Regions from separate parts of the Homo sapiens genome. Here regions 1, 2, 3, 5, 6 and 7 are each linked to region 4. The links are contacts of gene promoters, found by promoter capture Hi-C in blood cells and fetal thymus (Javierre and others, 2016). All regions are on one chromosome and are shown on one strand. Each heading gives the region's core, a stretch centred on a gene start or on the middle of the fragment in contact. The rest is flanking DNA. Distances are from core to core; before and after follow the strand shown.

The links. Contacts are between HindIII fragments. The CHiCAGO score rates a contact against its expected background, and 5 or more counts as called.
Region 1: a contact is called between a fragment that was not itself captured here and the fragment with the promoter of FBXO7 in region 4, in 2 of 17 cell types (M0 macrophages and M1 macrophages). The highest score is 6.9, in M0 macrophages.
Region 2: a fragment that was not itself captured here is called in contact with the fragment with the promoter of FBXO7 in region 4 in 5 of 17 cell types (total CD4 T cells, M0 macrophages, M2 macrophages and 2 more); the score reaches 7.0 in total CD4 T cells.
Region 3: a fragment that was not itself captured here is called in contact with the fragment with the promoter of FBXO7 in region 4 in 8 of 17 cell types (M1 macrophages, naive CD4 T cells, M2 macrophages and 5 more); the score reaches 8.5 in M1 macrophages.
Region 5: a fragment that was not itself captured here is called in contact with the fragment with the promoter of FBXO7 in region 4 in 5 of 17 cell types (M0 macrophages, M1 macrophages, total CD4 T cells and 2 more); the score reaches 8.6 in M0 macrophages.
Region 6: a contact is called between a fragment that was not itself captured here and the fragment with the promoter of FBXO7 in region 4, in 1 of 17 cell types (M1 macrophages). The highest score is 5.8, in M1 macrophages.
Region 7: a contact is called between a fragment that was not itself captured here and the fragment with the promoter of FBXO7 in region 4, in 1 of 17 cell types (erythroblasts). The highest score is 5.2, in erythroblasts.

The regions. Positions count from the first base shown.
Region 1 is chr22:32,050,787-32,054,653 of GRCh38, forward strand. The region is part of intron 2 of SLC5A1 (solute carrier family 5 member 1); the gene reads left to right. Among named protein-coding and RNA genes, the nearest start is that of SLC5A1, 9.5 kb to the left of the region's middle. The HindIII fragment of the contact is 4,183 bases long and covers 1-3,826 here.
Region 2 is chr22:32,073,566-32,077,336 of GRCh38, forward strand. The region is part of intron 5 of SLC5A1 (solute carrier family 5 member 1); the gene reads left to right. Among named protein-coding and RNA genes, the nearest start is that of SLC5A1, 32 kb to the left of the region's middle. The HindIII fragment of the contact is 8,214 bases long and covers 1-3,771 here.
Region 3 is chr22:32,111,072-32,115,236 of GRCh38, forward strand. It overlaps SLC5A1 (solute carrier family 5 member 1), which reads left to right. Exons shown (of 15, transcript NM_000343.4): 15 at 1-1,958. All of the region lies in intron 2 of LOC105373000 (a long non-coding RNA gene), which reads right to left. Among named protein-coding and RNA genes, the nearest start is that of C22orf42, 46 kb to the right of the region's middle. The HindIII fragment of the contact is 2,655 bases long and covers 1,539-4,165 here.
Region 4 is chr22:32,472,650-32,476,787 of GRCh38, forward strand. It overlaps FBXO7 (F-box protein 7), which reads left to right and starts at 2,162. Exons shown (of 9, transcript NM_012179.4): 1 at 2,162-2,475. The coding sequence starts at 2,354. RefSeq lists enhancers at 1,137-1,196, 1,922-2,422, 2,085-2,254, 2,423-2,923, 2,509-2,678 and silencers at 2,243-2,432, 2,443-2,752. The HindIII fragment of the contact is 4,456 bases long and covers 1-3,873 here.
Region 5 is chr22:32,089,391-32,093,203 of GRCh38, forward strand. SLC5A1 (solute carrier family 5 member 1) reads left to right here. Exons shown (of 15, transcript NM_000343.4): 11 at 2,222-2,372. Among named protein-coding and RNA genes, the nearest start is that of SLC5A1, 48 kb to the left of the region's middle. The HindIII fragment of the contact is 322 bases long and covers 2,079-2,400 here.
Region 6 is chr22:32,964,930-32,968,902 of GRCh38, forward strand. The region is part of intron 3 of SYN3 (synapsin III); the gene reads right to left. Among named protein-coding and RNA genes, the nearest start is that of SYN3, 91 kb to the right of the region's middle. The HindIII fragment of the contact is 4,613 bases long and covers 412-3,973 here.
Region 7 is chr22:32,902,901-32,906,885 of GRCh38, forward strand. All of the region lies in intron 4 of SYN3 (synapsin III), which reads right to left. Among named protein-coding and RNA genes, the nearest start is that of TIMP3, 100 kb to the left of the region's middle. The HindIII fragment of the contact is 614 bases long and covers 1,255-1,868 here.

The DNA of each region.
Region 1 (3,867 bases), core at 485-2,984, 420 kb before region 4:
CTTACATAGGGATCTGGGCTGGGAGGTCCCCGGAAGCCTGAGTCATGCTTGAGGCAAGCCAAGGCAACTCATCTGAGTAACATGAAACCATGAAACTGTACCTTACGTAACTGTGGGCTGGTTGGTGGCCCAGGATTCCCTTTTTATGTGGCACCAGGGTTTGCCACGTTTCACTCACAGCTGTCTGTGCGGAGATGTGATGGTAGGAAAGCTGTGAAGCTCAGGGGCTGAGCTTCGAAGGGGAATTCCCCACTCTTTGGATATTGGCAGCAGAAATTACACAGAGAAGTGAGGCCCCAGGTACACAGCCCAGTGAGAGACTCTTGTTTTGGAAGAGAGTTTGATCACACCTACCAGGACTACTGGCAGAGCCAGCTCCATGGGATCAGCTCCCTTAGATTCAGAAAGAAGCATTCCAAAGGGCAGGGAGTGGGAACTGCACAAGGAGCCACAGGATTTGGCTTGTTCCAGCTTTGTGACATTGGGCAATTCATTAATCTCTGAGTCTCTGAGAGTCTCCTCTATAATGTGGAGCTGGTCAGATAAGGAATCTCAAAGGCTCTTCCAGGACTAAAATTCTAAGTTTCAGCTAGGCACAGTGACTCACACCTGTAATCCAGGCATTTTGGGAGGCAGAAGTGAGAGAATTGCTTGAGCTCAGGAGTTCAAGACCAGCCTGGGCAACATAGCAAGATCTTATCTCTACAGAAAAATTAAAAACTAGCTGGGCGTGGTGGTGTGCACCTGTAGTCCTAGCTACTTGGAAGGCTGAGGTGGGAGGATCGCTTGATCTGGGAAGGTGAAGGCTACAGTGAGCCATGATTGCATTACTGCCTTCCAGCCTGGGGGACAGAGTGAGACCCTGTTTCAAACAACAACAACAACAACAAAAACCCCAAAAAACAAAAACAACAACAACAAAAATCCCAAACCCAACAACAACAAAACAACAACAAAATAGTTGACAAACTTTTTCTGTAAAGGGCCAGATTCTAAATATTTCTAGCTTTGCTGCTATGCAATCTCTGTCACAACTATTCCACTCTGCTGTTGTAACACAAAAACATCCAAGGAAAATGGATGAATGAATGGATGTGGCTGACTTTATTTGCAAAAATAGGTGGAGGGCCAGATTTCTTGTTTTGAGGACACACACAGACAGTCTCAGAACAGAGCCTGGCACACATTAAACCCTCAGGTTTAGCTCTTGTTCTTCTTTGCAACTGAAACCTATTGAAGGACTGTCATATCACTTATCTGATTGAATCCTCAATGATCTAGTGAGGTAAGTAGAGTGAAGATGATGATTAACCCCATGGGTTGCCCACGTTTACACAAGATAATGACAGAGCTAAGACTTCCTCTGATCTTCTGGTTATTCAGGTCTCTTTCTCCTTGTCTTTTGAGATGGAAATTTATGAGGCCAATTGGTGTGGCCTAAAGATTGGTCTGAAAACCAAGAAATTATTTCATTTGGGGCCGACCAGAGACCCTGATGAAAATTTTCCCTGAAGAAAGAGGACAGGTTCTCAAACTTTTCAAGTCCTCTTGGGTAAAATATATCTGATTTTATCGTTATGTTTCTAAAACCTAATGATCAGGTCAAAGTCCAGCCACTTATGATGTCACCAGAGGGGCCAAAGGGTGTCTTAGAAAAACCTGGTAGTCCCAACACATGGGTGGGGAGCTCATGAATTGGAGAGGAAGAGAGGGAACCAGGCAACTGGACATGAGAGAGGCAGGGATGCACTCCAGGAAGAAGTGAGAAGGAAAGATAAGTACTTGACTCTTCATAAGCCTGGGGGAAACAATTCCTACCTCTTCTGGCCCAGGTCCATTTGGCCCTCTCTCCCTGCTCTACTTGCTTTTTACCTGCATGTGCTCTTACTTATCCCAGTGCCCTGTGATGAGAGCTAGGCCTACGCTTTTCTTAATTTTTTTTTTTTGGCCTCACAACACCAAGGCCTTGCACTGCAAGAAGGCACTTGACAAATATGGGCTGAATTAAAGAGAAATGAGGGAGAAGAGGGACATGTCCCCAGAACCTCATGCTGGTCCCCCTTAGTGGTGTCACCTGAGACCTGAGTCTATATTCTGGCCTCTGGTGCAGGGGCCACACAGTATAGACAGTGGTAAGAATTCAGGAGGTTAGAAGGGTGCTGGGTCTAAGTCAAAGCCTGCCTCCAGCAGTGCTCCAAATTTCTGTTTTTATGCATAGAGAAAAATTGTTGTTGTTTAGGCTCATGGGAGTAAAACTGGAAAAGGAAGCCTTAATCAGAGTTCCCAATTTCAGCCCACACTGGACTCCTTGGTAAAGTTTGGTGTGGCTATGTTTCCTCACTCTCAGGCCATTTGTTTTCTCGGTCTGAGTCGAGGTTTTGCAAAACTTGGTAGTTCCCCATTGGTATATTTTGGGTGGGAGCTTTTGGGTTATCACAGCAGTGTCTGCTTTGCTCTTTCTTCTTCCTCCTTCTTATTTTTCCTCCCTTTTCTTCTCTTCCTATTACTCATTCTCCTTTTCCTATTCCTCCACCTTCTCTTCCTCCTTTTTATTCTCCTCCTTCTCCTCATTCTTTCCCTCCTTCCCTTTCTTCCTTCTCTTTCCCCTCTCTTCTCTTTTCCTCTTTCTCTCCCCTTCATCCTTCTCTTTTTTTGGTGGAATCACTTCCCTCCCATTCTTCATAGCTTAGTCTCTCCTCTAAGTAGCTTCTCTGATTAATACACAACCACTCACCACTCCATGTATTCTTGGTGTTTCTAGGCATCAATTGATTGATGTGTAACCAAGTCCCTGCCATCTAGTTAGTACCTAAGCATCTGGCTTCTCCTTTCTCACTGGCTGCCTTCCCAGAATTTTCTAACAGATTAGTGCTTCTGTAGACAGAAAAAAAATACCATTTTTTGTAATCCGTATTTCTGGTTGGTAGAAGTCGGAAGAGGCAGAAAGGTGGTGAAACTATCAGTTAAAATGAATTCGTTGTATTATTCATATTAGAAATATATCTGGGATTAAATTAGTTAATACATGTAAATCTCTTAGGACACTATATAGTTAATGCTGTCCAAGGGATGCCTATCATGATTATCATCATTATAATTGTTTCTCAGCCGGGTGCGGTGGCTCACACCAGTAATCCCAGCACTTTGGCAGGCCGAGGCAGGCAGATCGCCTGGATTGGGAGTTCAAGACCAGCTGGCCAACATGATGAAACCCCGTCTCTACTAAAAATACCAAAATTAGCTGGGCGTGGTGGCAGGTGCCTGTAATCCCAGCTACTTGGGAGGCTGAGGTAGGAGAATTGCTTGAACCCAGGAGATGGAGGTTGCAGTGAGCTGAGATCGCACCATTGCACTCCAGCTTGGGCAACAGAGCAAGATTCCATCTAAAAAAAAATAAAATAGTAATTGTTTCTCATCTCCAGCTTCTCCTCCTTAAGCTGTGAATTGAATCATTCATCTATTTATGTAGTAGTATTCTCTCATTCCACAACTGCATGTTGATACCTACTATGTGCCAGATGCCATGTAGGTGCTGATATATCCATGTGCATGTGTGTGTTTATGTCCCTCACATTCTTACAAAATATACGTAAAATTATCAATAATAGTTAAGTGCTCAGAAGAAAGTGTATTTGAGTCAAGGGTGAGGTTCAGTGGGAGGGAGAAGGGTCTTCCTTATTCAACATAGGCTCAAAGAGGGCCTTTCTGAGGATTGAGCATTCAGGTTGAGATTTGAATGATCAGAAGGAGCCAGCCATGTGAAGATTCTGGGATGAGTAACCCAAGTGGAAGGAACAGAATGGCCAAAGGCCCTGATGTAGGAAGAAGCTTGGGATATTTGAAAAACTGAAAGGGGGCCAGTGTGGG
Region 2 (3,771 bases), core at 329-2,828, 400 kb before region 4:
TGTTTTTTTAGATGTAGTTTCACTCTCGTTGCCCAGGCTGGAGTACTGTGGCGCGATCTTGGCTCACTGCAACCTCCACCTCCCGGGTTCAAGTGATTCTCCTGCCTCAGCCTCCTGAGTAGCTGGGATTACAGCCACACGCCACCATGCCTGGCTAATTTTTGTATATTTTTAGTAGAGACGGGGTTTTACCATGTTGGCCAAGCTGGTCTCGAACTCCTGACCTCAGATGATCCGCCCGCTTCGGCCTCCCAAAGTGCTGGGATTACAGGTGTGAGCCACTGCGCCCGGCCCCCGGGTTGGTTTTTAGTTATAAGATGAAAGGCCTGGGCTTTCCCATTTTATTTGATTAGAGACCAGTGTGCAAAGCCTGGACTGGAAAATGCTGGGAGGGCTAGAGAAATCGGGCTTTGGCTTCCTGAGAAAGGGCAGTGTGTCTGTCTAAGAAGAGAAAAGGGAATGTGAGCAGGAGGGTGAGGAGGTCACACTGCAATGAGCAGGAGGGTGGTACCTGTCTACTGTGCACGTAGAGAAGGGTGCTGGGCCTCCCCTTCTCCCAGGCAAGTGTCCTCCAAGTCCACAGTTCAAGCAGGTGAAAGTCTGTGGACTGCAGTTGCCATGGTAAGAGCACTCTTTGTCCTCAGAGCTGGTGCAGGGGTGGCAGGGGTGGTCATATAAATAAATTAGGTGCCCAACCTCTCTCCCTGCCTTCTCTATCACCTCACCTATTTTTCAAGTTACTGATTAAACCTTCTTGGACTTGGGAGCCCCCAGGGAGCTGAGGGACAGCCTCTTTCAGCTCAGATCTGGATGGAGCCCATCCCCGAGGAGCCCGCTTTTTCTAAATTTGGCTTTTGAATTGTATGTGTTGTGTGCTGCTCCCTCTCTGTGTGATTTTTGAGGCTCCTTACCCTCGTCACCCTCCTGCTCACGTTCCCTTTCTCTTCTTGGACAGATGCACTGCCCTCCCTCAGGAAGCTGAAGCCTGATTTCTCCAGCCTTCCCAGCATTTCCCAGTCCAGACTCTATACACTGGTCTCTAACCAAATAAGACTGAAAAGCCCAGGCTTTTATCTTATAATTAAAAACTAACCCTGAAGGAAAGGAGGAGAAAGTGAAGGAGGCTGAATCATGATATTAGTGGAGGCCATGACCAACATTATACTTACTCCATCCATTGCCCAAGACCAGGGATCCCTTGACAAATACATAAGAAGTTTGATAGCTGCCCTCTACTTAGTGCTGGTCTCGTCATTTAGTCTCCAACAGGGGTTTTACTTACACCCTCTCCAGTTCTCAGAAGAGTACAGCATGGGTAGGGATTTCTATTATTTATTTGTTTGTTTACTGAGATAGGGTATTGCTCTGTTGCCCAGGCTGGAGTGTAGTGGCATGATCATGGGTCAATGCAACCTTAAACTCGTGGGCTCAAGTGATCATCCTGCCTCAGCCTCCTGAGTAGCTGAGACTACATCCATGTGCCACCATGCCCAGCTATTTTTTACTTTTTTTTTTTTTTTTTTTTTTTTAGAGATAGGGTCTCACTATGTTACCCAGGCTGGTCTTGAACTCCTCGCCTCAAGTGATCCTCTTGCCTTGACCTCCCAAAGTGCTGGGATTACAGGTGTGAGCCACCACATCTGGCTGGGATTTTTATTTTATTTTCCATTTTATGGGAGAGAAAACTGAGTCTCAGAGAAGTTAGGTAATTTCCCCAAATTACACAGCTAGTACGTGGCAAAGCCAGAACTGGGAGCAGGGTCTCTCCAGTGCCAAAGTCTGTTCTCAGTGTTCTGCCCTGTGCTTGGGTGGGATGAAGGCATAGAATGAGGGGATGGGATAGATCATGTGGTCTTATGTTCTGCGCTTTCATTTTACAGATGGAGAAACTGAGGTCCAGACAGGGGAAGGGACTATGAGGGGTTAAACAGGAGCAGAACTGGGATGAGAAGCAGATTTCCTGACACTGAATCTAAACCTTTTGACATTATATGCCCCCTACCTTCTAAGTCTTTCATTCTTCCAGTACAGAGTAGGTTAGAATTCAAGACCCTGGGAAAAATGAAGAGAGCCAGTTAAATGAACCTCACAATATAAATGAGTTGCCAAGAGTAGGATTTGAGAGGACTATGGGGAGAGAACATCAGCTGCACACTGGGTATATGAAGGATCTGAAGGAGGGACATCTGGGCAGGGGGTAGGGTAGGGAGGGATGCAGACAGGCAAGGCTTTGTCTTCGTAAATTCGGCTGGTTTTAGGTTCAACATGGGTCACAGAGCATTGAAATTTTAAAAAGAATTACACCGATATCAACTGTACCTGCTAGAAGCTCACTTCAAGACACACAGGAATGCAGGGCTCATGGACAAAAGAAAATAACTGTTCATTAACAAAATACGGTGATAAGGCATTTATATTCCACACAAACCAAGATTCACCAATTGTGTGTGTGTGTGGAAGGGCACGGATGGTTTGTGATGGGTGAGAAGAGAGGAGGGTTAGTGTGAGATTCCTGTCCAGAGAGCGAACAACCAGGGACCTGCCACGAAGGCTTGGGGAGAATGTAGGGATCCAGTGGGGTTGTAATTAATGGGAGAGAGGAGAAAGTACAGGGCATTGTAGGTGCAGAGCCCAGATGTGGCCCAGGCCATTGGCAGCTGTGATGTGGAGCGTTGGCTATGGCTACCATCTTTTGGTCACGTATTTTTGGGCTCTGAGACTCAGAACTGATTGTCCTTCCATGAGCTCCTGAATTTTATTGGCTCCCTCGAGCACCTGCCTTATCAAGCTCTGAGAAGCATTCCATTCTGTAAAATTTCCCGGCATGTGCATCTTATGCAAATGTGCACAATCCCTGGAGATAAAGCCTCAGATTTTATGACTTACATGTGATGACTGAATGTTCATGTCCCCATTTGTGTTTCCTAGGGCTGTTATCACAGATCACAGCTACAGTAAATGTTTACAGCAATTCTGCTGTCCATTTTGGATCCTTGGGTGAAAAGAAGAGCTTTTGCTTTTGCTTAAGATTTGAATGCTCATTCCCAGGGCCACTCACTTTCACAAGTGGAAAGAGAAATTTGAGTAATGGGGCTTCACCATCTGAAACTGCGAGGCTAGGCAGGATTTATCGAATGCTCAAATACATCTTGGTTACGACCAGAATGGACAGCAAACACACACATATAAAATCACTGGATCTCAAAACATCAGAGCCAAGGCGAAGCAACATGCCCAAGCTCCCAATCAGAGACTCAGTTACTTGCAGATGCTTTCCAACGGGGGTCTGTATTTTTATTCCCCATGAATTCCATGGACATCGTTCAGCCAAATTTTCAACGTGATGGGAACAACACCCCTGGGCTAAATCCAACACACGATCTATTTTTGTAAGTAAAGTTTTACTGGAGCCCAGCCAAGCCCATTGTTTGTGTTGTCTGTGGCTGCTTTTATGCTTTAACAACAGAGTGTGACAGAGACAGTAAATGCAAAGCATAAAACATTTACTCCCGGGCCCTTTACAGAGAAAGTTTGCAAATTCTTGATCTAGAGGACCATAATTTTTTATTTCACTTCAAGTTGGTTTTGCTTAGCAGCATTGGAGAAATTTTCTTCTTTCCCTTCTGCCTCCCCTTTCCCTCTTTCCTTCCTTCTTTCCTTCCTTCCTTCCCTCCCTCCCTTCCTTCACTCCCTCCTTCTCTCCTTTCTTTCTCTCTCCCTCTGTTACCTTCCCTTTCTTTCCTTCCTTCCCTCCCCCTTCCTCTCTCCCCC
Region 3 (4,165 bases), core at 1,616-4,115, 360 kb before region 4:
GTGGCTACACAAAGTATGCTCACTGGTTACTAATGACTTGGGATGCATTTGTCAAACTGATTATATTAGTTTTCTAGGGATGCCATAACAAAGTAGCACAGACCAGATGGCTCAAGCAGCAGACATTTATTTTCTCACAGTTCTAGAGGCTAGAAGTTGGAGGCCAAGATGTCAGCAGGGTTGGTTTCTTCTGAGGCCTCTCTCCTTGGTTGCAGATGGTCATATCTCACTCTGTCTTCCGTGGCCTTCCTTTTGTCTGTGTCCTAAATCTACTCTTCTGATAAGGACATCAGTCATATTGGAATAGGACCCACCCTAATGTCTTCATTTTAATCACCTCTTTAAAGCCCCTACCTCCAAATACAGTCACACTGTGAGAAACTGAGGGTTAGGAAGTCAGCAAGTGAGTCTTGAAGAGATACTAAACAAACCCACAACACAGATAAAGTATGCATTTTGGAGATTTCCAAGCCAGAGTCTCCCGTGAAAAAGGTAAACGGAAGCAGTTATTGTGCAGCAAAAGGAAAAAGAATTACAAACTGAACGTATGTAGGTGAGGCAAGGCAGGGTAGGGCAGGGCCTTTGGGTAGGCTGATCAGAGGGTTTTTCAACAATAAATCAATGGGAATGCATTTGTTGCTCCCAGGACCCTGGCACCTTGACTCTGGTACTATAGCATGTCAGCAAATACAAGCAAAGCCCAACACTCTGATTTGCATTTATGCCAATCTAAACTATCCGGTGTTTAGTTTGATTTTTTGAGTGCAGGTTCATTCAAGGACCAGGTTCCCTTGTGCTCAGGGTGAAGTAGAACCAGAAAACATCGTTATCCATTCCCAGAAGTTTTGGAAGAGCCTTGGTAGAAAAGCAGAAGCTGCTTTGACCGTGAAAATATTTGACTCCTATCAGTTTTTGGTCAGGAGAAGATATCCACCTAGACCAACCTGAGGAGAAGGCTCAGAGTACAGATATACCCCGAGCAACGTGATCAATGTCCTTGAACCTTCATTTTTCATCTGAAAACAGAGACATAAATGCCTGGCTCACAGATTTAAATGTTATACATTGACAGCATTTATCAGTATAACATTTATTTAAATAAGTAGGTGCTCAATAGGTGTTGGTCTTCTAACTTGTCTACATCCCATCCCCATTCCAGGGTCTTCAGAATTGAAGGAGAGATGTTGTATCACTGTTAGAAGGCTGCTTTGGGACATTCTGCAGCAGGGAGGAGGGACTGTCAACCCCTACACCATGACCACCAAGTTCCTCACCTTGGCTGAGTCCCTAAAACTCTCTGAACCTCAGGTTCCTCCAAGCATAATGCAGACTTCACAGAGCTGTTGTAAAGATTAGGTGAGGTCAATTGATACTGCTTAAAAGGCCCGGTCCGTAGAAAATGCCCAATAAACATTACTGCTTTCCCCCTCACCCTACTGCCTGAAAAAATATTACACCTGTGAGACTGACTTTGAGAACCAGTGTGGGTGGGGAGTTGTGCATATAAACTATTTAATGAGTACCAAACACAAAAGTCAAGCTTGTAAAATATCAGGCCTTGCCCCAGAAAGACAAATACCACATGATCTCACTGATATGTAGAATCTTAAAAAGTCAAACTCAGAAGCAGAGAGTAGAATGATGGTTATCAAGGGCTGGGGGAGGGAGGGACTGGGGAGATGTTGGTCAAATGATACAAAGGTTTAGTTAGGTGGAATAAGTTCAGAAAATCAATTGTACAATGTATCAATTATAGTTAATAGCAATATAACATATACTTGAAAATTGCTGAGAGTAGTGTGAGTGTTCTACCACAAAAAAATATGTGCAGTAATAGATGTTAATTACCTTAATTTAGTCATTTCACAATATGTACATATATAAAAATATGTTGTATGCCATGAGTATATATAATTATTATTTGTGAATTTAAAAAATAAAAATAATTTCCAAAAAAAGTGACAGGCACTGGACACGTAGAGGAGGGGCCAGAATTAAGCAGATGGGCCCTAAAAGTCAATGGGGTCAGAGTTTTCTTTCCCTGGGTGCTGTAATGTACCTCAGCCATACCTACACACCTTTGATTTCAGAAAAGGCTTTCGGTCCTAACACAGCTCTACAAATCTCAAAGGAGGAACTGGGGAAAAGGTTTCTCCATTCTTCCAGTGTTGGTGAGGAAATGAAGCCCCTTTAGAAGTTAACTCTAAATAGTGGTTTTCAAAATGTGATCTTCAGACCAGCAGCCGCAAAATCATCTGGGAACTTGTTAGAAACGCACGTTCTCAGGCCCTATTCCAGACCTACAAAATCAGAAATGTCAGGGGAGGGGGTGCATCCCAAAAATCTGTGTTTCAACAAGCCCTCCAGGGGTTCTGATGCAAGCTATAGCTGGAGAATCACTACTCTAAGCAGCCCTTGGTCTGGTTCTGAACTGCATGTGCGTGAGCTGCCAGCACTCTTGTGTGAAGAAGGTCCCTTTATCAGATGGGTTTTTGCTACCAGTTTTCCAAGCATGGGATACATGGTATTAAATTGCCTGTTCTTTCACTGAGTGGCTCTCAGGACTTCAAAAGCTGGCTGGGTTAAGGATGCAACATGGGGCTCTGGGGCTGAATTGTACTTACCTGAGTCCCTTGGAGCCAGTCACACAACACCGGCCCCACTGACCTCATCCACACCTCCCTAATCCCATCCCCACCAAACTACCAAGACAATGCCACCTCACTGAAACAACTTCATCCATCAAATTACAATTTGGAGGTTAGGTGAGATTTTCTTTGGACAGGATAGGAAGGATGTTAAGAAACCCCTTTCATCCAGGCAAGCTCACTTATGCTTTTCTCTCGAGGTTCACTTTTGTGAAGAAGGACAAGAAAACACAAGCTGCAGCACCTCTTTTAGAAGATGGTGACTTCAGCACTAGGTAAGAGTGCGTTCCAGTGAGTTCCAAAGAAGGAATGTCACTGAGGGAACAGCAATGCCGGGCACAGCTACACACAAGCAAAGTAGTGCTCTCAGGTAGGTCAAAGGCCCCAGGACCAACTTCACTCTGTAGGGACAGAGGCCAGGCTTTGCATTTTGAAAGATTCCTTTTGAAATAGGCATCTATATTTAAAGAAGTTTTTTCTGCCTGATAAGGCATGATTTTTCAGTTCTATAAATTGAGGACAGATAGGCAGTCATTCAACCCCATAGAGAATACCATCTTCTTTTTTTTTTTTTTTTTTTTTTGAGACTAAGTCTTGCTCTGTTGCCCAGGCTGGAGTACAGTGACCTGATCTCCGCTCACTGCAACCTCCGCCTCCCGGGTTCAAGCGATTCTTCTGCCTCAGCCTCCCAAGTAGCTGGGATTACAGGCATGTGCCACCACGCCTGGCTAATTTTTCATATTTTTAGTAGAGACGGAGTTTCACCGTGTTAGCCAGGATGGTCTCAATCTCCTGAAGTCATGATCCACCCGCCTCAGCCTCCCAAAGTGCTGGGATTACAGGAGTGAGCCACTGCGCCCGGCCTAGAATACCATCTTCAATTTGGGGAAATGAATAGTGCCCCTGAAATTATTGTAGCATAATTTATCATTTGCTCACCCTAAGTAGCTCAGTCTATTCTAACGGGGCTTTGTACAGGCAGAGTTACTCACCTCATGTTTACTAGTGGCTCTGCAGTTGAAATAATCTCTAAACTTACCTATATTTTAAAAATTGTTCAAGTTGCTAGATCCAATTATCAACTATCCTGGCCTCCTGCTTCCTGACCCATATCTTGTGCCAACTAAGCTCACCATAGATATATTTAGTATTTGTCCAGAATCTCTGGAGAACAGGGAATCAGGATGTTATGGGGTTTTAATGTTTTTATTTTTATCAAAGGAATACATTTTAATTTGTGGGACTATAATGCAGGTTAATATAGCATCTGTATGGCATCTTTTGCATATGTAGCTCCCATCCCGTTTTCAAAGTGTCCTCATCACAACGACAGGAGGTAGGTAGATGCTACAAGCACCAAGGTCCTCATTTTTCAAAAAAACAAAATACACAGTTGAGACTAAATAATTTGCCAAAATATACACAGCAAATCACTGGCAAAACCAGAAACCGAATCCAGGACAGTCTAGACATTTTCCACTGTCCACCCATCCAGTGGCTTTTCTTCCTTTCCCTTT
Region 4 (4,138 bases), core at 912-3,411:
CCTTTGCCTCTTTTAAAAAGTTCTAAATTACTAGCCAATCAAGACAAATACAAAATATAAAGTCCCATTCCAGCCAATAAAAACCAGACACAGGCCAGGCGCGGTGGCTCACGCCTGTAATCCCAGCACTTTGGGAGGCCGAGGCGGGCGGATCAGGTCAGGAGATCGAGACCATCCTGGCTAACACGGTGAAACCCCATCTCCACTAAAATAATAATAAAATAATAATAATAATAATAATAATAATAATAATAATAATAATACAAAAATTAGCCAGGTGTGGTGGCGGGTGCCTGTAGTCCCAGCTACTCGGGAGGCTGAGGCAGGAGAATGGCGTGAACCCAGGAGGCGGAGCTTGCAGTGAGCCGAGATCACGCCACTGCACTCCAGCCTGGGCGACAGAGCGCGACTCCATCTCAAACAACAACAACAACAAAAAAAAACAAAAACAAACAAAAAACCAGACACAGCAGTAAAGTGGACACATCAGGTTATATATGACCCTGTCTCCTTTGTTCGGTGTACTCTCGTGACAAAACTGCTGGCGAGTATACCCTTTCTACAAAAAATAAAAATGGCCTTGCTAAAAAAATTAAATTTATATTCAAGTGCTATTTCTTTACAACATCAAAAAACAAACATTTCTAACAATCCCATTCCTCAGGTCTGTATTTATGTCTATCATAAAGCAGAGACTTTTTACACTCTACTGAAAGAGCTGATTCACTCAACTGTAAACTTTGCATGGGCAGAAACATGTCTTTTTGGTCTCTTGAGTCTCCAGCATGTGGGGTATCTGTCACAAAGTAGGCAATCAATACATATTTATTTGCAGAATCAAGGGCAGGATGTGGACAAGTGCTGCCACCTATTGGGAGAAACTTTATTTGACTCTAAGGATTTGGACTATGGTTATCACACAAGGACGAAACTTGATACTCTCTCTCATCTAAGTTATCATTAGTTAGACCCTCTATGGTAGCCAGCCTCCAGGATGGCCCGCAGCGATCCCTGTCTGTTGGCATTCATACCTTTGGCTGGATCCTCTCACACATAGGGTTGGTTTGTAAATATGACAAAAGCCGTATGTGACCTCTGGAGCTAGGTCATAAAAGACATTGTGGCTTATACCTTGGTCTCTCTGGGATCACCTGCTCTGAAGGAAGCCAGCTGCCATGTCATGGGGACACTCAAACAGCCCTATGGGGAGGTTCACGTGGTGAAAACAGGTCTCTGGCCAACAGTCATGACTGTGCCATCCTGGAGGCCGATCCTCCAGCCCTAGTCAATAACTGCTGCCCTGGCCTACAGTTTGTAATCTCATGGGAGACCTGGAGACAGAACCACCCAGCCACGCATCCCCAAATCCCTTTACCTCTAAAACCTGTGGGACAACAAATGTTTATTGCGTTAAACTTTGGGGTGATTGTTATGCAGCCACAGAGTTCTAATAAACTGTCGGACATAGATTACTGGCTACAAATAGTTCTACTTTTTTTTTGAGACAGGGTCTCGTTCTGTGGAACCAGGCTGAGGTGCAGTGGTGCGATCACAGCTCATTGAGGCCTCGACCTCCGGGCTCAATCGACCCTCCCGCCTCAGCCACCCAACTAGCTGGGACTACAGGCAGGCGCCACCACACCTAATTTTTTGTATTTTTTGTAGAGATGGGGGGGGGGGTTTCACCATGTTGCCCAGGCTGGTCTCGAACTCCTGGGCTCAAACGATCCACCCGCCTCGGCCTCCCAAAGTGCTGGGATTACAGGCGTGAGCCACCGCGCCCGGCCAACCTAAGGATTAACCTAAGGCTTCTCAGAGCAGATGCCGCTGGAACTGAGGGCCACGGAAGAAAGGGGGTGACACTTGGTCCTGGGGAGTGGCGACTGTATTGTCTGTCTGCAGCATCCCTATCAGCGCTACCGTTGTTCCACGCACACAGGGAGTAAGTACTGGGAGTCCCAGCCACCGCCGCGGAAAATCTGGGATGCCAGCGAGCGGCCGCATCTCGGCGCCTGCGCACTGTGCCCGCGCTCTCAGGCAGCGCCGTTGCGCGCGGAGTCATCGATCGGCCGACCCCGAGAGGCCCGGTTCCTTTAGGCCGCCTGCCCGCCTCCAGCTCTCGGGGTCGGCTCCAGGAGGCGCCCTCAGGAGAGGGGCGGGCGCTCTATTCCAGAGACCGAGTGGCAGGGCGGCCACTGTGGCGGGGCTCTTTCCCCGTTTCGCCTCAGCTACCCCTCAGCTCCGGTAGTCGCCAGTCCGGGGTCGTCGCCGTTTGGGGCGGGAGCTGCTCGGCCCCGCCGCCGTCCCCGTCGCCGCTTCCGGGTCCAGGCCCCTCGGGCCGCCTGCCGCCGTCATGAGGCTGCGGGTGCGGCTTCTGAAGCGGACCTGGCCGCTGGAGGTGCCCGAGACGGAGCCGACGCTGGGGCATTTGCGCTCGCACCTGAGGCAGTCCCTGCTGTGCACCTGGGGGTACAGGTACGCTGGGGCCGGGGCTGGGCGGCCCGCGGGGAGTGGGGAGTGCTTGGGGTGGGTGCAGGGCGGGTTGGCGTCATCTGTGGGCTGCAGGCGCGGGCGTGGCCGGGCGATAGGCCAAGTGCGGGGACGCCGGGGGGGCCTTCACGGGAGGCCCGGGCTCTTCCGGGCGTCGCGGAGCCGGAGGGTGCAGGCGACGGGAAGCGCGGGTGGTCGGCTGGGGTCCGGCTCCTGGAGAACATGGCCCGGCCTCCCGGGGGCTCTGGTCCCCTCCTCGGTGAGTCATGGCTTCTGGTTTTGCAGTAAACGGAACCAGGGAGAGGAGGGAACGCACAATTTCCACAACTGGTTAGATTTCAAGTTGGAAATGATGAGCTTGGCTTGGGTTAAACCTTTCTGGACTGTGAGGGGTCCGAGTTAATTTCTTCAGCTGTTGGAGTATTTCAATGAAAAAGTTTGGAAATTGCTAGAAGTTAAAAATCTGCCCTCAATCCGAGGCCACCGGTAGCTTGTATCGCTGCTGTGAAGCGGCAACAATTTTAGATTCTGTTGTGTTCATGCGCCGAGCACCGCGGTGAGCGCTTGGACTTCGCCGCCGAAAAGTTTTAGAAAGGACAGCGTGTAGGCGTGTTTCAGACCATTTCATTTTCTTGGGTGAAATGTTGCTTTTTTGCTAAAACTGAGGCAAACGTTGATCTTGAGAGCTTGCAGTTTGGGGGCAGTAAAGTTGAGAAAGGATCATATTCTGTTATTGGTTTGTGGGACTGCAGGTGAAGCTGCTTTGTTTCCCTAAAAGATACTTTTTGGGGACAATAATTTGGGAGTAAAGCGGCAAGGTAAGAGTGGTCCTCTTCAAATACTGAGCTAGTGAATTTGAAACTTGAGTGTGCTAAGGAAAAATGAAAAAGATGTTCCCTGGGGATTTTTAGGTGAATTCTTCAAAACAAAAGCAAACCTTCCTACGTTTTCACCTTATTTTTAGGGAATTGGGTAAAATGAGGCCGTTATTCTGAACTTCTCGCCCTTTCATTTTCCTGGTTAAGACATTATTAGATTGAAAGTAAGCCTGTTTTCTTCCTGATTAAAAAAAAAACCCTAAATAAGATACTGACATAACTCCTTTTAAACATTATAGTAAGTGACATGCCTACTGTTATTTCTTGTTGTTAAACCTGTGTGTTTTACATACTGGCATCGTTACCAGTAGGTTACGAGTAGAAGATTGAATAAATCTTCAAACTTATTTTTTAAAGGTATTACCAAGTATATATATATTTTATTATTTTTAAATTAGGCAGTCTTGAAAGGACGTGAAACTCAATATGACTGCCCAAAAGGGCACGTTGGTTTCTCTTTCAGATTTCTTTTTACAGTTGAGGCTGGTTACCTGGACAGAATTTAAGCTTCAGCTTGTGAAAGTAAACTCATTTTTTCTGAAAGTATACTCATTTTCTAATAAAGGTGCAGTTTTAAAATATGTCCATGTGATATTATTTTAAAAATATCTTTACTGAGCAAGTGGAGCTAGGATTGTCATGAAATGCTTTTATTTGTTTTGTTTTTGTTTTTTAAGAGAAAAGTGAAAGCAAGTTTATTAAGAAAGTAAAGGAATAAAAGAATGGCTACTCCATAGGCAGAGCTGCCATGAAATACTTCTAAGAAGGCT
Region 5 (3,813 bases), core at 990-3,489, 380 kb before region 4:
TAGAGGAAAGACAGAATTGTGTTCCAAAAAGATCTCAAGAGGCATGAATGCTGACTCAGATCTAACCAGCTGAAGTTTAATAGAGGTATAAGTAAAGTTCTAAACATTTGGGTCTCCTAAATGCAGTTAGATAGGAATATAGAGAAGAGAGAGTTCAAGGGAACATGAGTTATCTTTGAATATATGAAAGATGGCAAAATGGATAAGGAGTAAGACCTGTTCTGTTGGGTACCATGAGGACTACATTTGATGCTATAGAGAGGTAGATTTCAGCCTACTCAGAACTGTCTGAGGGCAGGTTCCCTGTAGGGTAGGAGATTTCCTGTTGCTATAGAGATGGGCAGAGGAATGTTGTGGAAGGGATTCATGTATCAGATGGATGATAGGTCTAGGTGATCCTAAGGTTACTTTTACTCCTGAAACTGTAAAACTCTTGTTAGTGGGTCCTCAGCTTGGCCTGGCCTTCTAGCCTCAGCAGGTGTCCCCCTGTACACTCCTTGGTATGGGAAGAATAATAGAGATTATAGCCAACCAGGCTTGCCATAATTGAGAAAACTTTAATAACAAGAGTTCCGTATTCCTATTTGGGAAGGTGTAGTATTCCGTATACTGATTTGGGAAGGTATCCCTGTTTAACACATCAAGAAATGAGGCCTAGAGCTTGACGTAACTTGCTTAGGATCAGAGTTAGAAATACAGCCTTGTCTTTCAAAAAAAAAAAAAAAAACAAAAAAACTTAATTGAGCTTAAATTCACCTATCCTACAATTCCCTCATTTAAAATGTACAATTCAGTGGTTTTTTAAGTATATTCACAGAGTTGTGCAAGCATCACTGAAATAAATTTTAGAAAATTTGTGTCATGCCATAAAGAAATCCTATACCTGCTAATGAAATGAGCAGTCTCTCCCTATTTCACCCCAACCTCCCAGTCCCTGGCAACCACTAACATACTTTCTGTATTCCTAGATTTGCCTATTCTGGATATTTCATATAAATAGAATCATATAATACGTGTTTTTTTGTGACTTGCTTCTTTTACTTAACATAATGTTTGCAAGGTTCATATGTGTCCTAGCATGTATTTGTATGTCATTCCTTTTTATTGATGAATAATATTCCATCACATGTTTACCCATTTGTCAATTGCTTATGCATTTTGTTTATCCACTTATCATTTGGTGGACATTTGTATTGCTCCTCCTTTTTGGGTATTACAAGTAATAATATTACAAACATTAATGTATGAGTTTTTGAGTGGACATATGTTTTCATTTCTCTTGGGTAGAGAGAAATGAAATTCCACCTAGGAATGGAATTTCATTTCTCTTGGGTAGAGAGAAATGAAATTCCACCTAGGAATGGAATTGATGGGTAATATGGTAGCTGAATGTTTAACCATCTGAAAAACTGACTGACCCAGACTATTTTCTGCAGTGGCTGTACCATTTTACATTCCTGCCAGCAATATATGAAGGTCCTCATTTCTCCATATCTCCACTCACACTTGTTATTTCTGTTTTTTAAAAATTTATTATCATAGCTATCCTAGTGGGTACAAAGTTATTATCCCACTATGGCTTTGATTTGAATTCCCCTGATGTCAAGCATCTTTTCATGTCATTATTGGCTATTTGTATGGCTTTGGAGAAGTGTCTATTCAGATCCTTTGGCATTTTAAATTGGGTTGTCATTTTATTATTGAATTTTAGGAGTTCTTTATATGTTCTTATATTAGACCCTTATCAGATACATGATTTGCACGTATTTTCTCCCAGTCTGTGGATGGCTTACTTTCTTGAGAGCCCCATCTTTTGAATAATAGTTTAAATCTCTTTCTGTTATATCATAAATATTTCAGGTGAGAGACCTTATAAAAATCCCCTCAGATGGAAACACACATACACAAACACACACACACACACACACACACACACACACACACACACACACCCCACCACCTTCATCATCGTCCAGTTGCAAAGTATTCACCTCAAGTATGTTGTGTCTCTGGCTCTTTGTGGCTGCTGTGGGCTTATAATGGGCTAATAAATTTAAAGCCATAGGACTACTTCTTAAAGCTTCTAGTCTTTTTGGAGACAGAAATTGGATAACATGGCATGGTTTCAGAAGGCAAACAAATCTTGAGTCCTCATATATTTTTCAAGTACAAAAGAGCTGAAGGTGCTGTTATGTGCCACTCAAAAATCCTTCTCTTCCAGGACTGCGAGGCCTGATGCTATCAGTCATGCTGGCCTCCCTCATGAGCTCCCTGACCTCCATCTTCAACAGCGCCAGCACCCTCTTCACCATGGACATCTACGCCAAGGTCCGCAAGAGAGCATCTGAGAAAGAGCTCATGATTGCCGGAAGGTAAATGCAGCTTCCCCCAAGCCACAAAAGCTTGAATGATCAGAGAGGTTCCATCTGTGTTACCCCTCAAGCTAGGGAAGGTTGGCAGATGCCTGGGTAGAATGGGAATAATTTCTGTGGCTGGTTATATGTGCCATTTGGTGGCATTTAACTTTATTTACTTATTATTTTATTTTATTATTTTTAAATTTTTTATTTCCATTCATGTTTGGGAAACAGGTCGTATTTGGTTACATGAGTAAGCTCTTTAGTGGTGATTTGTGAGATTTTGGTACACCCATCACTTGAGCATTATACACTGAACCCAATTTGTAATCTTTTATCCCTCGCCCCCCTCCCACCCGTTTCCCGTGAGTCCCCAAAATCCACTGTATCATTCTTATGCCTTTGCAACCTCATAGCTTAGCTCCCACTTATAAGTGAGAACATATGATGTTTGGTTTTCCATTCCTGAATTGCTTCACTTAGAATAATAGTCTCCAGTTTCATCCAGTTGCTGCGAATGCCATTAATTCGTTCCTTTTTATGGCTGAGTAGGATTCCATCATATGTATATATACACCATAATTTCTTTATCCACTTGTTGATTGATGGGCATTTGGTCTGGTTCCATATTTTTGCAATTATGAATTGTGCTGCTATAAACCTGCGTGTGCAAACATCTTTTTTGTATAACGACTTCTTTTCCTCTGGGTAGATACCCAGTAGTGGGATTGCTGGATCAAATGGTAGTTCTACTTTTAGTTCTTTAAGGAATGTCCATACTGTTTTCCATAGTGGTTGTATTAGTTTACATTCCCACCAACAGTGTAAAAGTGTTCTTTTCACCACATCCACACCAATATCTATTTTTTTTATTTCTAAATTACAGTCATTCTTGGAGTAAGGTGATTATTTTTTCCTTGTTAATTTGTTTGAAATTTTTTGTAGATTCTGGATATTAGTCCTTTGTTGGAAGTATAGATTGTGAAGATTTTCTGCCACTGTGTGGGTTGCCCGTTTACTCTGCTAACTGTTCCTTTTGCTGTGCAGAAGCTCTTTAGTTAAGTCCCACCTATTTATCTTTGTTTTTGTTGCATTTGCCTTTGGGTTCTTGGTCGTGAACTCTTTGCCTAAGCCAATGCCTAGGAGGGTTTTTCTGATGCTATCTTCTAGAATTTTTATAGTTTCAGGTCTTAGATTTAAGTCCTTGAATTATCTCAAGTTGATTTTTGTATAAGGTGAGAGATGAGTATCCAGTTTTATTCTCCTGCATGTGGCTTGCCAATTATCCCAGCACTATTTGTTGAATAGGGTGTCCTTTCCCCACTTTATATTTTTGTTTGGTTTGTCAAAGATTAGTTGGCTCTAAGTATTTGGGTTTATTTCTGGGTTCTCTCATTCTGTTTCATTAGTCTCTGTGCCTATTTTTATATCAGTACCATGCTGTTTTGGTGGCTCT
Region 6 (3,973 bases), core at 1,468-3,967, 490 kb after region 4:
ACTCTACAGTAACCAGCAGCATGACCCAAGCAAGAAACTGCACCTCGATCAGTCCCCATTCAACAGATGAGATAGAAAGGTGGTCAATGCAGGGGTCAGTGGTATGGGCTCTGGAGCATCTGGGTCCACATCTCAGCTCTGCCATCTCCTAGCTGTGTCGCCTCGGGCAGGACACTTAACCTCTCTGAGTCTCAGTTCCATCAGTACTCTGTGGGGTGGTGATGAAAATTAAATGTATACAGATAAACTGCTTAGAGGATGGCTTGCACATTGTGTAAATGTTAATGTCAAATCTTGCTTTACCTGCACTGTACTATATCAATGATTTATCTGCATGATTCCTGCAGGGCTAATGCTTTGTTTGTGTTGTTTACCATGCCAAAGGCTCTTTGGGTTCTTGCAGTAGCCTAAAGCTTTTCTCTTTAGCTTCTTTCATCTTTCCCCACTCTGGATAAGTTTGAGAAATATATATTGAACACAGATTAGGTATCTGGGTCCTTGGAGCACCTATTATGTACCGAATAAGTGTCCTGCCAGCCTCCCCACCACAGTCTACCATAGCACTGTGTACCCTACTTTCACGGCTTCTAACAGTTTGTAATTATGGTGCGTACGTGTGTGTGTGTGTGTGTGTGTGTGTGTGTGTGCATGCTTGTGTGTGTGCGTAAGAGAGAGAGAGACAGATAGATAATATGATTAATTTCTGGCCCCTGCCATTAGATGTTAAGTTCCATCAGGTAGAGATTCCATCTGGCTTTTTCGTTGTTGTTGTTGTTGTTGTTTTATGATGGAGTCTCGCTCTTTCGCCCAGGCTGAAGTGAGTGGCACGATCTCGGCTCACTGCAAGCTCCGCCTCCCGGGTTCGCGCCATTCTCCTGCCTCAGCCTCCCGAGTAGCTGGGACTACAGGCGCCCGCCACCACACCCGGCTAATTTTTTGTATTTTTAGTAGAGACGGGGTTTCGCTGTGTTAGCCAAGGTGGTCTCGATCTCCTGACCTTGTGATCTGCCCGCCTTGGCCTCCCAAAGTGCTGGGATTACAGGCACGGGCCACCGCGCCCGGCCAGATTCCATCTGTTTTTAATCACCATTGTAACCTGAGCACGCAGCACATAGGCAGTCAATGAATATTTGTGGAATGAATAAAGATACTGTCCCTGTTCCCAATGAGCCCAGAGTCTACAGGGAGCGAGGGGCAGGTGAATTAGTAATCTCAAAGTCATCTGGGAAGTGTGATGTAGACACAGGTATGAGGTGCTAGGGGAGTACAGGGAAGAGGCACCTCACCCTGCCTGGATGGAGGGGGAGGGCAGAGGAAGCAGCACAGACATCATGTTGGAGCTAATGTTGAAGAATCTATGGCAAAATCTAAGAAAGGATGTCCCAGGAGGAGAGACGTGCATAAGCAAAGGCATGGAGATGTGACTCCAAGATGGTATTACCATGGGTGGGCACTGGGGAACCACAGCAGTTTGGTGAGACCGAAGTCTAAGGTAGAGCACGGGAGGAGATGAGCAAGGAAAGGCAGGCAGGGGCAAGCTCATGGAGGGCCTTGTGTGCAGAGCTTGAGACCCCCAAAACAAGTCTAATGCACAGGTCAGCCCTTTATGCATGAGAGGAAAGTGACCAAGCCTTCCCTGGATTTTACTGCTTCAGGATACACCTTCCCAGATGAGCCAGCATAAAGATTAAGAACCATAAACAGGCAGGGCATGGTGGCTCACACCTGTAATGTCAGCACTTTGGGAGGCCAAGCTGTGGGGACCACTTGAGCACAGGAGTTTGAGACCAGTCTGGGCAATACAGTGAGACCCTGTCTCTACAAAATATTTTAAAAATTAGCCAGGTGTTGTGGTGCGCACCTGTCATCGCGGCTACCCAGGAGGCTGAGGTGAGAGGATGGCTTGAGCCCAGGAGGTTGAGGCTGCAGTGAGCCATGACTACACCACTGCACTCCAGCCTGTGTGACAGAGTGAAACCTGTCTCAAAAAATAATAAAATAAAATAAAAAGAACCATAAACACAGATTCTTCAGTTAAACTGACTCTGAATTCCAGTTCTGCCACTTGTATGCTGTGTGGCCTTGGGTAAGCCTCAGGTTCCTCATCTGGAGAATGGGGGAACTCATAGTACCTGTTCATCAGAGTCATGATGAGGATGAAACACGCTAATCCATATGAAATGCTTAGCGTGTGCCTGACACTTAGTAAGCATGTGATTAGATACTGCCTATGATCATTAATTCCTTCAGAGCCCAGGCTGTACAGCTGCCATCTGCCTCAGGCACCGCCAGTGGAAACTCTCTCAGGTCACCCTCTAAAACTCCCTGAGATGAGGGGGCCAAGACTGGACCAAAACGGGTCCAGTTTAGGTTGAATTCTATTGTAAAGTAAATAGTGCCTTAGAACTACTAAAATCCTATGTGATACTAAAGATAGACATTGTAGGGCACATAAACTCGTTCTCTGCTATCAGCCTCCCAGCTCCTTCCTGAGGGACTAGAAAATGCGCCCAGACTGTGTATGATCCAAAGGAAGTCATTTCAATGCCTAAGTCCTGTTGATATGTCAGCTCACTCCCCTCCTCAGGAGACTCTGCTTAGAGTGGGCTGGGAGATTCCTTAGACAATCTAATAGATTAGTTTCCAGTTTAGCATAACAGCCAGACAGATTTTTGCAGTGAAGTCATCCAAGTCAATTAAAAGGCATTTTTCCCTGCTGTGAGTTCAGAAGTCCCTTTGGTTCATTCCAGTTTTCTGGGATGTTTCATAATAGGTTCCACCCTAGGTTAATTAATAACCCTTGATTCCCACTGAAATGCAAAGGCTCAAATCCACTGTGTAAGCACATCCGGGCAGAGGCTGCTGGCAGGGCTGGGGTGAGCCCAGTGGGGGCTCCTCTCATCAGGGAGTGGGCCAGACCCCAAATGGTACAGACAACAGCAGAGCTGGCAGAAAATGTAGAGTAGCCACACAAAAGCTGAAGGCCACGCTGGAGAAGTGGTGTAACCAGGGGCAGTAGCGCATGGGGAGGGAGATCATCAACAGATGAAGGAATCACAAGGCTGGGGATTAGGCAGATTGGGAGCAAGTTGACATGTGCAGTGTGAAACGGCTTAGTCCAAGTGGCTGGACTAAGGTGGTGAACAAGAGGAGGTTGGCAATGGCTCGCTTTCAAGAAATGCCAGCTGAAACACATCATGTGGGTCTGACTCCATCCTCTCAGTCTTAAGAAAAATAGGTCATCTCTTCTCCTCCAGTTTCAAATACGAATTACAGGTATGAGAATGGCTCAAGTGGTTAAGGAACACAGTGGCGAGGATGTACATGCATTCACTTAACACTTATGAAGTCCCTTCCATGTGCCTCCTACCCAAGCATCATATTCAAGGATGAGATGACTTTTGCACCAAATCCAGAGCTGAGCTTTTCTGCCTCCAGTCTCAAGCCACCATTCCTATCCAGCGAATCTTCTAAGACCACTGTCAGCCTGTGCATTCTAAAATGAAATCACGGTCACAGCACTCCATGGCTTAAAAAGTTCAATACATACATCCTGCCTCTAGGACACAATTCTTAGTTGCATGCCTTGCACTAATAGCCCACCCTGAATAGACTGCCCTCCACCTTCTTTGTCAGCTTCGTCTCCCACCAACCCTTCTCATGCATGGCATACCCTGGTCATTTGCCCTGTACGTGACAAGCTGAGACTTGAATCATGCTCTTTAGCTAGAAGGCCCAATGTGCACATCTGCCCACTCACCCTCACCTAATTCTTGTCCCCAAACCCAGCTGCACATCAGGTTCTCTGTGAGGTCTTTCCTGAGAACATCCCAAGGTTAGACAAATCTCTACGATAGAGAGATCCTCGTCGCAACACATTTTGGCCACTGCCTTCAATGTCTATCTTCCCACCAGATAAAGAACCCTTTGAGTGTGGAGGGCTCTGTCATTAGGACAAAGTACAGAGCAGGTG
Region 7 (3,985 bases), core at 312-2,811, 430 kb after region 4:
GATGTATTTTACTGAGGAGGACACTGAGGTTTAGAGCAGTTAATAACTTTCCCAGTTTACATGGCTAAAATGTGACAGTGCCAGAATTTAAACTACGGTGGTTTGGATTCAGAATCACAGTCTTAAAAAACACGCTCTCTACTGTTTTTCGAGTACAGAGAAATGATAATTGATGCTCAGCCCCTATGTCTGGGATACATTAGGGAGTGGTGGGGACTCTGGTGAGCTATAGAGTCCATGCTCTGACTAAAGGTACACTCCTGTGACTGACCTTGAGTAAGACCAGTGAATGTTTGGTGCCCCAATTTTCTCTACCCTAAAATTGCTATAATTATCTCTTCATCTCATAGGGTTGTTTTGAAGACTAAATTAATTAACATGCCTGGCACATAGTAAACATTATGTAAGTGCAAGCTGTTATGACCTGTGAGGTGATCTTTGTTTTACACATTCGTTTTTTTAAAAAATACCCATCTAACAAGTTCTATGTCTTAAACATTCAAAACACCTACTTATATATAGTACAGGGAACTGCGCACACCACTGACGATCAAGTTTTGACAACTGTTCTGGGGCCTTTTCCTCCTCCTTCTGAGCAACACTAGAGCTTGTGGGTAGGGGGAGGGGGCTTGGGAAAAGAATTGAGCTCTCCAGGCCACAAGCCATGCGCTTCGCACATCAGCAGCAGCCTCCATAGCTGGCTGCTGTAGCCCCTCACAGAGCTCATGGTTACCATCGGCCTCCAGGCTGTAAAGAATGTGAGGTGCAATGGGCAGCCTTCCAGGTACCCAAGAAGGGAGGCTTCATCCTTTCAGGATGTCTCAGGCTTCAGATAAAACCCTTCCTGTGTTCCAGCTCATAGCTGGCAGGGGCAATCGGCAATGACTGACGACAATGGGTGACTTGTCAAAAAGATGTGTGTGTGAACCAAATGCCAGCTAGCTGGAGCAAAGCATGCATTCAGGAGGCTGGTGGGAAGACCATCAACTGCACAATGGTTTGTTTTGCACCTACTATGTATTGGGCCCCGGGCCAGGCCCAGTACATAGTAGTACATACATTTCAGGAGGTGGTGAAATTAATAATAATAGTAGTTCACCTGTATTTACTGCCTCAGAGCACCACAACAGACATTATTTCTCTTAATCCTTGGCACAAGTCTATGATGTAAGCAGGCCTCATTTCCTTGCTTTAAAGGTGGGTAATAAATGAGACTTGTTTAAAGTTATAAATTATGGCAGAGATATTTGGCCAAGCTTGTTTCCTTTTCCACCTGGGTATCCCCATCTGGACTACATTTCCCAGCAGGCCTTGTGGTTGAGTGTGGGCATGTGACAGAGTTCTGGCCAATGGGATGAATGGAATGCTAGTGATACTGCAATATGGCTCTGCGAGGCCTGGCCCATAAAAATCTTTCCAAGCAGTCTATCCTCTCCTCCTCCCTTGGCTAGCAGATGCAGAGAGTCTGCAGAGGGCTCTGAGTACCTAGCGATGGTGGAGTCACAAGATGGAAGGCGCCTGGTTGGATTCCTGAGGAACTCTGAAGAAGGTCGTCTGCTGAATGCCACACTCTACTCTTGATTGAGTGAGACCTAGGCTTCTTTTGTGTTAGACCACCAAGTTTTTTGTTTTTTTTTTTCATAACAGATAGCCTGCCCTAATATACACAGTAAAAGCAGAATTGGGGTTTTAGAGGCATTTTGCTTGTACATGTGACAGTTTTTTCGACCATCTTCCAAACAGGCAGAAAAATCTCCTTATGCATATAGAGTCTTGGGATTTTATAAAGCATTTGAACAAGTAATGGGACAGTTTCTTCCTTCCACTCCACGCAACACTTGGACTGTGGACTCTTGTCCACTGTGGGAAGCTTTCAGGTGGGGTAAGATGTCTGGGCTAGCCACAGCTCTGGTATCATTTGCTCAGCCCTTCGCAATTGTCCTGGTAGACAATAAAGTGTCAGTGTTGTAAGGCATTCTTTGCATGCAATGAATTAACTTCCCTCCTGTCCATGGATAATGGTACAAATTATATACCGTCCCTCAGAGAACTGTGAAAATAGTCATCATTATGTGCTTTTGTGTTCTGTGGTTCAGATGAGAACCCCCAATTGCAAGCCCCTTCCCCTCTCTGAGCTTCAGTTTTCTCATCTATAAAACCACAGGGTGGAATTAAGTGAACTAAAGAGTCTCTTGCGAGCTCGAATTTGCTATACTCTCACAAAAAAGCAATATTTTGTATGAGTCAGACACTGTCCCACATTATTTCACTTAGTCATTGAAATGAAGGAGGATACAAATAAGGTATTTTGGGGAAAATAATAGAGAAACTGGAATTGCCCACCTTCAGTTGTTTCCTCCAAAGTTTCTATTCAATAAACTTTAGGGGAGTGGCAAAGTGGTACACAGTATTACTCTAACTTGCAACTTCACTGAGCCTGCAATCTAGGTGGGAGGACAAAAACCACACTTAGGGAACCAATAAATGTCCCAGAGCATAAGGCAAAGAGTCTGCATGGTCAGGAAGACAAAGGGGGACAGAGGGAAAGAGACCTACCTTGGTTGCCACCCTCCACCCTGCCTCAAATTCCTGACTGCAGACACAGTTACGCTCTGAGCACTTGCTGTGCGCCAGACACTGGCTGGGTGTTTTGCTTTCACACTGCATTTGATTCTCACAGGCGCATTGCCAGGAGGGCATGATTCTATCTGGTTAAAGAAGTGGAGCTTAGGAGGCACATGGTCAGTAAGTCACTTATCCAAGGCTCCCACATAGCTGATAAGTACCAGAGCCACAGGGTTTGAAGCAGGTCTGTGTGGCTGCAAGAGCCTGTATTCCCTGCACTCTGCCTCTGCCCTCCTATATGGGCAGCTCTGGCCTGAGATTCAAGCTGCACTAACTTCCCCGGGTCTTGAAGAAGAGATACTGGCACCCCCTCTAAGGGTTCGTGCCCTTTCATTCATGAATCACAGTCAGGTATCCTGAGGAAACCTCAGCTTGCAGGGCATCCCATGGCAGAGAGGTCGGACATTCACAGAGAGGTGCAGCAGGTTTGGTATCATTGGCAGAGCCCTGGATATTCTAACTGGGAAACTCTGGTACAAAAATTCCAAGGTTTGCACAGCTAGAGGCCCATGGGAAAGACCTAGGAGCAGCTGAAACTAACTGACCCCACCTGGAAGCAGATCCCCTCCAAGGACACAGAGGGAAGAAAAGCGGCAGGAAGTAGCTGGTCTGGTTGTTCTCAGGAAGGCGCACGACCTGGAAGAGAGAAACGTCTTTCCCTGCAAACAACGATCTGGCATTTCTCAGTGTGTGCTCCTGGGACCCTCTGCAACACAGCTCACTTAGCATGTTGAAAAAGGGGATTCTTGGGCCTCAAACACAATGAATCAAGATCCCCTGGAGTGGGGAACAGGAACCTGCATTTAGCCAAGCTCATCAGATAGTTCTAATGCTCACCAGGATTTAAAAATGGAAAATTCCACTTATTTGAAATGATTCTACTTAGTTCTTCCTTAGATGCCCTATTCATTCCTGCCATTTTGCCCATCAGTGATGCTTAACCCCAGGGGAAAAATAGTAAATATATTAATATCTTTTTTTAACTTTAAGTTCTGGGATACATGTGCAGAATGTGCAGGTTTGTTACATAGGTACACATGTGCCATAGTGGTTTGCTGCACCTATCAACCCATCACCTAGGTTTTAAGTCCTGCATGCATTAGGCATTTGTCCTAATGCTCACCCTCCCCTTGCCCCCCACCCCCCGACAGGCCCGGGTGTGTGATGTTCCCCTCCCTGTGTCCATGTGTTCCCATTGTTCAACTCCCACTAATGAATGAGAACATGAGGTGTTTGGTTTTCTCTTCCTGTGTTAGTTTGCTGAGAATGATGGCTTCCAGCTTCATCCATGTCCCTACAAAGGACATGAACTCATCCTCTTTTATGGCTGCATAGTATTCCATGGTGTATATGTGCCACA